Linked DNA regions of Homo sapiens: all the other regions are linked to region 2. Evidence: promoter capture Hi-C in 16 types of primary human blood cells and fetal thymus (Javierre and others, 2016). All regions are on one chromosome and are shown on one strand. Each heading gives the region's core, a stretch centred on a gene start or on the middle of the fragment in contact. The rest is flanking DNA. Distances are from core to core; before and after follow the strand shown. Region 1 overlaps CSMD2 (CUB and Sushi multiple domains 2). Region 2 holds the start of TRIM62 (tripartite motif containing 62). Region 3 has its middle 15 kb from the start of ZSCAN20. Region 4 overlaps CSMD2 (CUB and Sushi multiple domains 2).

Region 1 (2,700 bases), core at 43-2,542, 380 kb before region 2:
TACATTTTTGTTCATTTTCTAGCTTTTGAGTAGGAATTTAATTCATTTATTTTCATTCTTTCATTTCTATTGAGTTTTATTGCTATAAGTGCTTAAGACTATGAAATTTCCTCTGATCACTGCTTTAATTGTATCCTATAGAGTCTAATAATAAATGTTTATTATTTATTAGAAATTCTGTAATTTTGGTATTGATTTCCCCTTTTACATAGAAAATTTTTAATAGAAGGATTTGTTTCTAGGTGGAAGGCCCTTTTTTTTCATTGTGTTATTCATTTCTAATTTTATTGCATTGTATGTAATATTTCTACTTCATGGAATTGACTGAAGCTTTCTTTGTGACCTAATAGTTGGTCAGTTGTTATGAATGTCCCATGTGCACTTGAGAAGAAAGGATATTAGGATGTCATGTTTTATTTATATATTCATGAGATATATCTGATTGATTATGTTGTCTATGTCCTTTACATTCTTACTTTTCACCCACTCAATCTGTTTTATTCTGAGAGATGTGTTTAAAGTTTTCTATTATTAGTGTGTTTCTGTTTTTCCTTGCACTTCCTGTAGTTTCTGTTCTATAAAGATGGTTGCTGTCTTATTTGGTGCATAGATATTCATAACTAGTATCTCCATTGCACATTGTGGTTTTTAGCCTTTAAAGATTACTTTTTTGTCACTTTTAACATTTTTTAGCTAGAATTGTACTTTGCTTGATATTAGGCTTACAACCCCTGCTTTAATTCTTTTGCCTGATGCACCTTTGACCATTCTATTTTAGCCTTCTGCTTCTCTTAGGTGTGATTCTTGTATGCAGTATAAATTGCCTTATAAGCTAACTTAACCATCTTTTTCTTTTAGTTGGTTAGTTAAACTCATTCACATATATTAATATGACTGATATGTTCGGTCTTAATTTTGCCGTCTCCCATTTCCCCCACTTCTCCACCCATGGTAACCACCATTCTGCTCTCTGTTTCTACGTATTTGACTTTTGGAATTATAATATTAGTTTAATTCTATTTTTCTTATAGGTTATTTGGTTGTTTTTTTTTTTTGAGGTTCCTGATTATTTTTCCCTTTATCCTAAAGTCTAATATTTTTACTAGGACATGCTTCAGAGTTAATTATTCCAAGACAATTTCCTTAGGTATTCTATGGGTCTTTGAATATATAGATTCAGGTCTTTCTTTATTTCCAAAGACTTTTCTTGGATTATGGTTTTAAACACTGATATTGCTTTGTTTCCCACTGTTTTTTTTTTCTTCTTCATCAGCTCTGATTATGTGTATGTTGAATCTTCTTTGCCTATCTTCTCTCTCAGCCTCTCTCTCATTATTTTCACCTCTTTATCTCATTTTAATTCCCTTGGTTTTTTGCCTGACTTTCTTGAGTAACTCTTATTAAATTATCATTTGAGAATATTCTTTCTTGGGCCTCTTATAATTTAGTCTTCATTTCTCAGATGGTTTTGTCTTTTTCTTTTATCTCTTTAAAGCATACAATCAGTTATCTTTTATATTCTTCCACCTTTTGTCCATTTGTGCTGTTTAGTTTTTGATTTTCTGATTTTCATGGTGGTTTTTAAAATATCTCCAGATGCTTATTTGAGAATATTTAGTTCAGTTTAGAATGCTGCTACATTTTTCTTACGCTTCACATGTTTTGTTTTTGGTGAGGAGGTTTTCATCAGATGAAATTCTTGAATTCTTTTCTATTTTTTTCTTAAAGTAGCTTCGTATACATTTAGGTTGATGTCTTCTATTCATTTTATGGCTTTAGTGTGGTTTAGTAGTACCCTCTTCTGTCAGTGTTACAAAGTCTTTCTCTCTGATTGTTTTTACTTCTTTATCTCATTTTGATTATCTTGGATGTTTGCCTTTGTTTTGTTTATTTATTTTTTTTAATATAAGGTTTTGTGTGTGGTAAGGAAGAGGTTGTGTGTCCTTCATTTTTGTTTGTTTGCGTGTTTTTCTTTTGTCTTGCAGAACCCCAGGTTTTCCCATCATTGCTTCTTATTCCCTTTATCACTCAGAGGATGTCACTTTCTTTTCTTCCAGAAGCAATGAGGGAGAATCACACACACTTTTATGTCCCTTTTCTGTGGTTGTACATTGACATACCAAGATTTGTTTTCAGTATATTCATATATGAGATGGATTTTCTCCTTCTGGCAGTGATTTTAGATCAGTGTTAAGCCCTTCACCTGCTCCTCTCTTCTCTTTCTCATACAGTCTTGCTCTCCACAAAAGCTTGCAACAGAACCATGAGAAGTAACTCTGCCTGGGCTTAGTGTATATTTCTCTTACATGTAATTTAAAGTTTGTAGCACTCTCTGGCTTCTAGTTAGGCTGCAGGCCTGGGTTTTCTATTATTTATTCTTCTGGTTAATCTGCATTTTTTTGATTTAGGCAATCACTGTTATGCTTAGCTGCCTGGAAGTAATTTGGATAATTCTTCACTTTTTAAATTTCCCTAAAGTGAGCCTTTATGTAAAGTGCAAGTTTTCCTTCTTAATTTTTGTAAGGCAGTTTTTTTATTTTAATTCTTCTTTTGGCTTTTTATATATGGGATGGGGCCATAAAATAATGAGAACTTCTCAAAAAACAATGCCTGAAATTAGTCTTAATAACTTCTTAAGGGTTACAGAAAGCAAGACCCAAGCCAGATATTGTAGCTTGTGCTTGTAGTCCCAGCTATTCA
Region 2 (2,700 bases), core at 45-2,544:
AACTAAACTGAGAGCTTTTTCATAAACTGTACCTCAATAAAGTTTAACACCAATGAAGATATTTCTGGAGGAGGCAGAAACTGGTAGCCACCCTCTATGGCTCATTTCCCTCACCCCCGTATCCAACCATCACCAAATGTCACCGTGTCTGTACTTGCAATACCCTAGTCTTCTCTCCTTACCCACTGCTGAGGCCCCAGTTCGGGTCTCACCTCCTGCAGGCACGATGACAACAGCACCTTAGGGGTGCCCAGTCTTTCCTTCCTCCTGCAACCCAGGGCGTTGATGCGGTTATTCAGCTACACACCTTTACTGTGTGCTGAGTGCTGTGCATCCGCAGACACATTGGAAAAGCTCCCTGTCTTCTTCACCTTGCAGATGGTATAATGATTATCTCCAAGACTTCCTGAAACCCAATCGGACCAGGTCATTCCCTTGCCTGAAAGCCCCATGCCTTCAAGAAATTCTTTACCATGACCCACAATGCCCTCCAGCCCACCCAGGCTCCTTCTCCACCCCACCCCCAACAGTACAGAATTACTAGCACTTCCTTCACTGCGCCCTCCCCTTTCACGCCTCTATGCTTTTGCACAGGCTGTCTCCTCTGCCTAGAAATCCCTTATCCCCTCTCCATCTGGCACACAAGACAAGTTCTCCTATTACTTTTTCTCCCTCTCTCCTGCTCCACCCCTCACCGCCTTACACACACACACACACACACACACACACACACACAAATACAGCACTCCAGAATTGTTTGCCAATGGAGGCAGCCTCCGGGGCCAGATGTTAGCCAGGGCTTTCCAAACTTCTCCCCAAGCACTCCTTAAGAAAGTGAAGAGGAAATGGGACCCCAGGGCTTAGGAGTGTGAGGGCCTTGAACTCGCTCTAAGCAAGCAGGGCATTTCAAGAGTTTTATCTTTATATTTTATGCAGAAGTTGTATTCCAAATATATTCTTGTTCGTTTTAATACAAAATATGATTTTTTCTACATCTTCAAATCGATGATCCAGAAAGATGCTCCTTGTTTATTTGTTGTGCTCTCAAATTAGCTGCTCCGCCTCGCCGCGGGGACCCTAAGCGAGACCTGGATGCAGTTCCAAGTACACACCCCGAAGGAACAGCTGGGCTTCGCTTCCCTGGGAGCTGGAGGATGGTGGGGGTGGGGCGGGGTCAACCGGCTGGTGGCCCCGCCCCTCCCCCGCCCGCTGCGGGGGCGGAGTTGCTTGGGTCCCGCCCACGGGGGCGGGGAGGCAGCCGCGGCCACCGGCAGCTCGGATTCGGCTGGTTCCGGGTTGAGAGGCTGCGCTGGACCGAAGCGGTGGCTGCTAAGCTCGCGGGGGTAAGGGGTCGCGCTGGGCCAGGGTTTGGGGCCGGGATCCGGCAGCTGAGCGGGCCGGCACCCCTCCTCTTCTCTGCCGGTCACAGCCAATGTACGGCTCGGCCTGGCTGCCCCCTCCCCCAGGATTCCCCATCCCCAGCTTCTCGCCCTCCCCGCACCGCCCCCACCCCGGGATTTCGACCCCCTTAAGGGCTCCACCCCGCTCCGGGATCCCCTTCTCCCAGCTCCTATCCCTTAGGACTGCCCCGCCCCCTAGAACCTCCCCGTCAGGATCTCCGTCCCTCAGCCGCTCACAGCCTCCTCCCAGCGCCCATCGCCTTGAGCTGCCCACTACCTCTAGACTGCCCTCCCGGGCTGGCGTCCCACGGAGTCTCAGCCGCGCACCCCTTCCTCGCGTTACCCTCCTTCCGGACAGCACCCCCTCCCTTCTCCGGTAGCTCCTACCCCTGCCTGTGCGGGCCTCGTCCCCGCGCCCAGCCCTCGGTGCTGCCTCCGACAGCGCCGCGCTCTCTCAGCCGCCCCCCTGCCCCTCGGGCCCCCCTCTCTGCTGCCCCTGGCGCCATGGCGTGCAGCCTCAAGGACGAGCTGCTGTGCTCCATCTGCCTGAGCATCTACCAGGACCCGGTGAGCCTGGGCTGCGAGCATTACTTCTGCCGCCGCTGCATCACGGAGCACTGGGTGCGGCAGGAGGCGCAGGGCGCCCGCGACTGCCCCGAGTGCCGGCGCACGTTCGCCGAGCCCGCGCTGGCGCCCAGCCTCAAGCTGGCCAACATCGTGGAGCGCTACAGCTCCTTCCCGCTGGACGCCATCCTCAACGCGCGCCGCGCCGCGCGACCCTGCCAGGCGCACGACAAGGTCAAGCTCTTCTGCCTCACGGACCGCGCGCTTCTCTGCTTCTTCTGCGACGAGCCTGCACTGCACGAGCAGCATCAGGTCACCGGCATCGACGACGCCTTCGACGAGCTGCAGGTGCGCTACCCGGCCTGCCTGGGGAAGGGGCGGGGCCGGGCTGGAGGTGGGGCCGGGCGGGGGGTGGGGTCAGGGCTGGACCGCGGGCCAGGCCCAGTCAGAATGGTCCTGGGGCGGGGCCGCCAGCAAGGTCAGGGCCCTATCAGGAGTAACGCGGGGCAGGGAGGGGCGGGGCCGCCGCATGGCGGGGCCGTGGGGGCGGGGCCTTGGGCAGTCCGGACCCTGAGGGATCTGAGACAGACCTGGAGTACCGGCTGGTCCGCGGTTAGGGAGAAGTCGGGGATGCGGATGGGATGGCGGAAACAAGTGAGATCAGAACTGGACCAGATACTGGGCTGGGGCAGGGTTGTGGACGAACCGGAATCAGAGTTGGGCAAAGGCAGGGCCA
Region 3 (2,700 bases), core at 22-2,521, 280 kb before region 2:
TTGAGACCAGCCTGGCCAACATGGTAAAACCCCATCTCTACTAAAAATACAAAAAAAAAAAAAATTAACCGGGTGTGCTGGCAGGCACCTGTAATCCTAGCTACTCAGGAGGCTGAGACACGAGAATTGTTTGAACCTGGGAGGCAGGGATTGAAGTGAGCCAAGATCGCACCATTGCACTCCAGCCTGGGAGACAAAGCGAGACTCTGTCTCAATAAATAAATAAATAAATAAATAAATAAATAAATAAATAAAAATATAAACCATATCACAGCACTCTCTTGCTTAAGCCCTTCAATGGCTTCCCATCACATTTATAATTTTTTTTTGTCTGACCTACAATGCCTTACCTGAGCTGGTTCTCACCCACCATTGAATACCAACCATGCAACTCCCCCCATCTCTCTCTCTCTCTTTCCCAACACACTTGGCCTTCTCTCTGCTGATCAGAAGGGCCACGCCCACCTCCACCTAAGGGCTTTTGCAGTAGCTGTTCTCTTTCCCTGGTAAGCTCTGCCCACCTGTGATGGGTTTTTGCTTTTGTATTCTGGAAGGTTTGTTGTTTGTAGATGTGTCTGTGTGTATGCATGCGTGTGTGTGTGTGTGTGTGTCTGTTTTTACTAACCATGAGTTAATGCTACAAGACTGATGGTTTTAAATATGAGTCACCACGTTAGGAACTTTTGCCTGAGACAAAACAATACTCCCAGGACATTGAGAGGCTCTGTTCTCCCACCCTATTTTCTTAGCAGATAGCATGACTTTGAACCTAAAACAAAATAAAACTCTTTGAAGTCTTTCCAACAATGAAAAGACATAATTTGGTAATAATAACAATAATATGAAAACAAAATAGAATTTAAGACAAATCATTAAGTGATTAAAGAGGATCATGTGGAAATAATAAAAGCTCTATTACTAGAGCCACAAAACACACACATCAAAGCTTTTAGAACTATAAGGAGAAGGTGACAGAAGCACAATTGTAGTTTTTATTTATTCACCCAACAATGTGCCAGGCACTGCGCTAGGTGGTGGGGAATAAGCAGTGAACAAAACATCTAAAATTCCTGAGACTGTGGAGCTTACTTTTAATGGGAGAAAACAGACAATTTTTAAAGTAAATATACAATATATTATATAATCATGAGTTATATGGTGAAAAATAAAGCAATGGGCCGGGCACGGTGGCTCACGCCTGTAATCCCAGCACTTTGGGAGGCTGAGGCAGGCGGATCATGAGGTCAGGAGATCGAGACCATCCTGGCTAACACAGTGAAACCCCGTCTCTTCTAATAATACAAAAAAATAGCTGGGCGTGGTGGCGGGCGTCTGTAGTCCCAGCTACTCGGGAGGCTGAGGCAGGAGAATGGCGTGAACCTGGGAGGCGGAGCTTGCAGTGAGCCGAGATTGCGCCACTGCACTCCAGCCTGGGTGATAGAGCGAGACTCCATCTCAAAAAAAAAAAAAAGAAAGAAAGAAAAATAAAGCAATGAAGGTGGATGGGGAGAAACAAGGGTAGGAATCAAGGTAGAATTTTAAGTAATGTGTCTAAGAAGACCTCTCTAGTGAGGTGACATTTGAACAGAAGCTTGAAGAATGGAGAGGGAACCACCCATCTCTCTGGCAGAGGAAGCAGCAAGTGCAAAGGCCCTAAGGTGGGAGGTGGAAGCCAGGAGGCCAGGGCGGCTAAAGTGGAATGAGCCAGAAGAGGGATAGCGGATGAAATCAGAGACATCTGCAGGGCATAGCCGCTCAGGGTGGCGCCGTAGACTGTTGTCAGGACTCTGGCTTTTATTCTGTATGAGATATGGGGTCATTAGAGGGTTTTCATCAGAGGAGTGACACAAGCCTGTTTATACTATCAAAGAATCATTCGGGCTGCTATGATAAGAGCAGAATTGCTGGGGATAGTGGTGGTTGCATGAGGACAGAAGCAGAGGGATAAGTGAGGAGTTGTTGCATTAAGTCAGGTGTAAGATAATGTGGGCTTGAACCCTGGTGATAGACTTGGGATTAAGAGGTTAAGACATGGTTAAATTCTGGATATATTTTGAAGATGGAACTGACAGCATTGGCTGATGAGTTGGACGTGGGGTGTGAGGAAAGAGAAGTCAAGGATGATGCCAAGACTGTGGGAGAACAGATTTAGAAGAATTAGTTCAACTTTTAAAGTACTCAGTTTAAAATGACTGTTATAGGCCAGGGGTGGTGCCTCATGCCTATAATCCCAGCATCTTGTGAGGCCAAGGCAGGTAAATTGCTTGAGCCCAGGAGTTTGAGACTAGCCTGAGTAACATGGTGAAGTCCCATCTCTACAAAAACATACAAAAATTTTCTGGGCGTGGTGGCACATGCCTGTAGTCCCAGCTACTCAGGAGGCTGAGGTGGGAGAATCACTTGAGCCCAGGAGATAGACCCTGCAGTGAGCTGTGATTGCACCATTGCCCTCCAGCCTGGATGACAGAGTGAGACCCTGTCTCAAAATAAATAAATAAAACAAAACAAAACAAAATGACTATTATATACCAAGTGGCTGTGTCAAATGACGCAAAGTGCTAGGCATAGGAGGCACTTGATACCTGTGTGCACATGTGTGTATGTGTATACATGTATGTGGCACATTTCATATGTGCATGTATGTATGTATGTTGTGGTTAGAACTACGTCCACCTCTTGGTGGCTGTGTGATCTTGGTGA
Region 4 (2,700 bases), core at 178-2,677, 430 kb before region 2:
TTACTCGGATTATACCTAACTAACACTGTATCACTTGATATTAAAAATAAAAAATAAAAATAAATTACTCAGGGACTTAAAAAAAAAGGCGGGGGTGGGGCGGAAATCTGTCGTACAGAGACTGGACCTCAAGTTGTACTTTTAACCCCAGTGTCTAATTTATCATCCTAATTAAATTGAGCCAAATCAATGAGAAATCGAGTTTGCATTCTTCTTCGTATGCACATTCTAGCTGGCCTAGAGACTGGGAAGGTTGTTTTTTTGGTTTTGGGGGGTTATTTTTGTTTTGTTTTGTTTTTGGAGCTGGAGTATGCTAGGCATGGGAGGTTGTCAGGGTGTGGAGGACATCAGTGTGGGTACAAAATGTAATTGCTGGTGATCCACATATTATGCACTGGGAATATCATTTAACCCAAATGTCTCTGTTGAAGGGATGAGGGCTTTGTGCTGACATGGAACTGATGGGCCGTACGCACGGGTCATCTTGCCCAAGCCATTGCACTGCTTCTAGGAATGAAATGTCCCAAGGGGATTATGCCTGCATAGCCCTGAATGCCAGTCTGTGAGCCTCAGAAATGAAGATCTCCCATTTTATCCTTCATTATTCAGCCTGGAGTGTGATTAGAGATTAGGGAAGGGGCTTTTGGGAGAAAGCAGTCTAACTGGCCTTCTCTAAATCCGGTTGGAGGGGAGGAGAGAGCTTGGTGGCCCTCTGAAAGATGTTATTTTCTGTTCAGTACCATCTTCTGAAGGAAACTGGGTGTTCAGTACCATCTTCTGAAGGAAACTGGGAGCAAAGCGATGACGCCCTCGGCAGTCTTAGGAGACTCCAGACTTTGAGACATTAAGAGGATCTGGGAGACCCTGTACCTCTGCATCCAGTCTTGAGGCAGAACCAAGATGATAGAAGGTGGGGAGGGCAACATCCAAAGGCAAACAGAAGTTTGAATGAGGTGGCTTTCCCTGTAAGTCCTTATGTTCAGCCACCATTTTCACCTCTAAATTCTGGGTGCTAATTCAGGTTTCAGGGAAGAAGCTACTGCTGGGTCCAGTTGCAAAGGCCCGGGATCCCTTGCTTTCAAGTTAATGTTGGATTCTGCCGAGGTCCCTAACTTGGTACCTGGTCTCAGCGTGTAAAGAGCTGCTGCAGCTACATGCTGCTCCACTAGATGGCGGTCACAGTCCAGTTCTTTCCTTGGAGTTCAAGTCAGAAATTCCGCCATCCTTAAAGAGCCCCTTCTGTGGGCCTGCAGCCCGCAGGGCTCCTATATGAGGGGACGATGCCTGGGCAGTGGAATGGAAAGCACAGGCTCCTCAGATAATGTATACAAAGATGTCATCACAGCCTAACACGGTGAAAACCCGTCTCTACTAAAATACAAAAAATTAGCTGGGCCTGGTGGCGGGTGCCTGTAGTCCCAGCTACTTGGGAGGCTGAGGCAGGAGAATGGTGTGAACCCGGGAGGCGGAGCTTGCAGTGAGCCAAGATCGTGCCACTGCACTCCAGCCCGGGCGACCGAACAAGACTCTGTCTCAAAAAAAAAAAAAAAAACCATCACAAAATTATCTGCAACTTGGAAACAATCTGCATGTTCATGAGTTGGGGAGTGAACTGTATGGTTGGATAATTCATAAAATGGAATTAACATGCAGTTAAAATGAATGAACTATATTTTTGTATATTAACATGGATAGACCTTGAAAAACACAATATTATGTAAAAAACTGTATGTACAGTATAATATCATTTATGTAAATCTTGAAAACACATAAACCCAGATACATATTTAAGAATCCAAAACCATGAACTGGAAGGATAGCTTCCAAATTCATGTGATTGCTTCTGTGGAGGGCAGGAAAGGAATGGAACAGGGCAGGAGATGAAAGATCTTCAACATTAAGTGTCGAGTCTTTATTTTATTCTTTAAATGATCAGATGCAAAAAGAATTATACTCGTGCTTATTCTGAGCTTATTTGATAGCACAGATAAGCCAATTTTAAAAATGAAAATCCATCTATAATCTCATCGTGCAGCGATAATCACTAATGGCTTAGTCTCCCAGCGTTACCATGTAAGTCTCATGAAGACAAGGACCTTCTTGATCTTGCTCATCCTGTACAATGCCTAGCACAGCCCTGATGTACAGCAAATGCCCAGCAAATATTCCTAGCAGGCAAATTAATATTCTTCCATGTTTTATAATACAAAAATTAGAATTGTATACAGCATACTATTTGTCATCTGATTTTTACAATTATCAATGCAATATGGGCTTTTTCCTATGCTCAGTAAATATATTTCTTCAATAACATTTTCCATGGTGATCTAATTTTGAAAAATCTTATCAGTAAACAAACATAAATGTTCCCACCTTCGTTCTTGAAAGAGTATATTACTATGTACATTAAGAACTTAATTAGATTTATTTAACCTGTCAGGTTGCTAGAATGTCTTGATTAACTCACTAAGATCCCAAAGTAGAAACTTTATTTGGCTTCTTTATGGAACAGAGGGGACAATGTATACTTCTAAGCCCTACGTTTCTGAATTATCATAAGAGTTCTAGAAAACAGCAGTATTGAAGGTCTTGTCTTTTGATTAAGTATTGGGGGTGTTATTTTTAAATGAAAAGTTTATTCTAGCAAAACTATCTTTATGCTGATATTGGACATATGAATCATAAATTTAAACAAGTGTT

The links. Contacts are between HindIII fragments. The CHiCAGO score rates a contact against its expected background, and 5 or more counts as called.
Region 1: a contact is called between a fragment that was not itself captured here and the fragment with the promoter of TRIM62 in region 2, in 1 of 17 cell types (M2 macrophages). The highest score is 6.4, in M2 macrophages.
Region 3: a fragment that was not itself captured here is called in contact with the fragment with the promoter of TRIM62 in region 2 in 1 of 17 cell types (endothelial precursors); the score reaches 6.0 in endothelial precursors.
Region 4: a fragment that was not itself captured here is called in contact with the fragment with the promoter of TRIM62 in region 2 in 1 of 17 cell types (M0 macrophages); the score reaches 5.8 in M0 macrophages.

The regions. Positions count from the first base shown.
Region 1 is chr1:33,564,662-33,567,361 of GRCh38, reverse strand. All of the region lies in intron 53 of CSMD2 (CUB and Sushi multiple domains 2), which reads left to right. Among named protein-coding and RNA genes, the nearest start is that of ZSCAN20, 93 kb to the right of the region's middle. The HindIII fragment of the contact is 1,919 bases long and covers 333-2,251 here.
Region 2 is chr1:33,180,637-33,183,336 of GRCh38, reverse strand. TRIM62 (tripartite motif containing 62) reads left to right here and starts at 1,294. Exons shown (of 5, transcript NM_018207.3): 1 at 1,294-2,312. The coding sequence starts at 1,905. It also overlaps a transcript of ZNF362 not described here. RefSeq lists silencers at 1,120-1,429, 1,660-1,729, 2,320-2,519 and an enhancer at 2,602-2,700. The HindIII fragment of the contact is 3,969 bases long and covers 1-2,700 here.
Region 3 is chr1:33,456,685-33,459,384 of GRCh38, reverse strand. No RefSeq gene overlaps it. Among named protein-coding and RNA genes, the nearest start is that of ZSCAN20, 15 kb to the left of the region's middle. The HindIII fragment of the contact is 645 bases long and covers 949-1,593 here.
Region 4 is chr1:33,611,535-33,614,234 of GRCh38, reverse strand. All of the region lies in intron 40 of CSMD2 (CUB and Sushi multiple domains 2), which reads left to right. Among named protein-coding and RNA genes, the nearest start is that of ZSCAN20, 140 kb to the right of the region's middle. The HindIII fragment of the contact is 3,817 bases long and covers 1-2,700 here.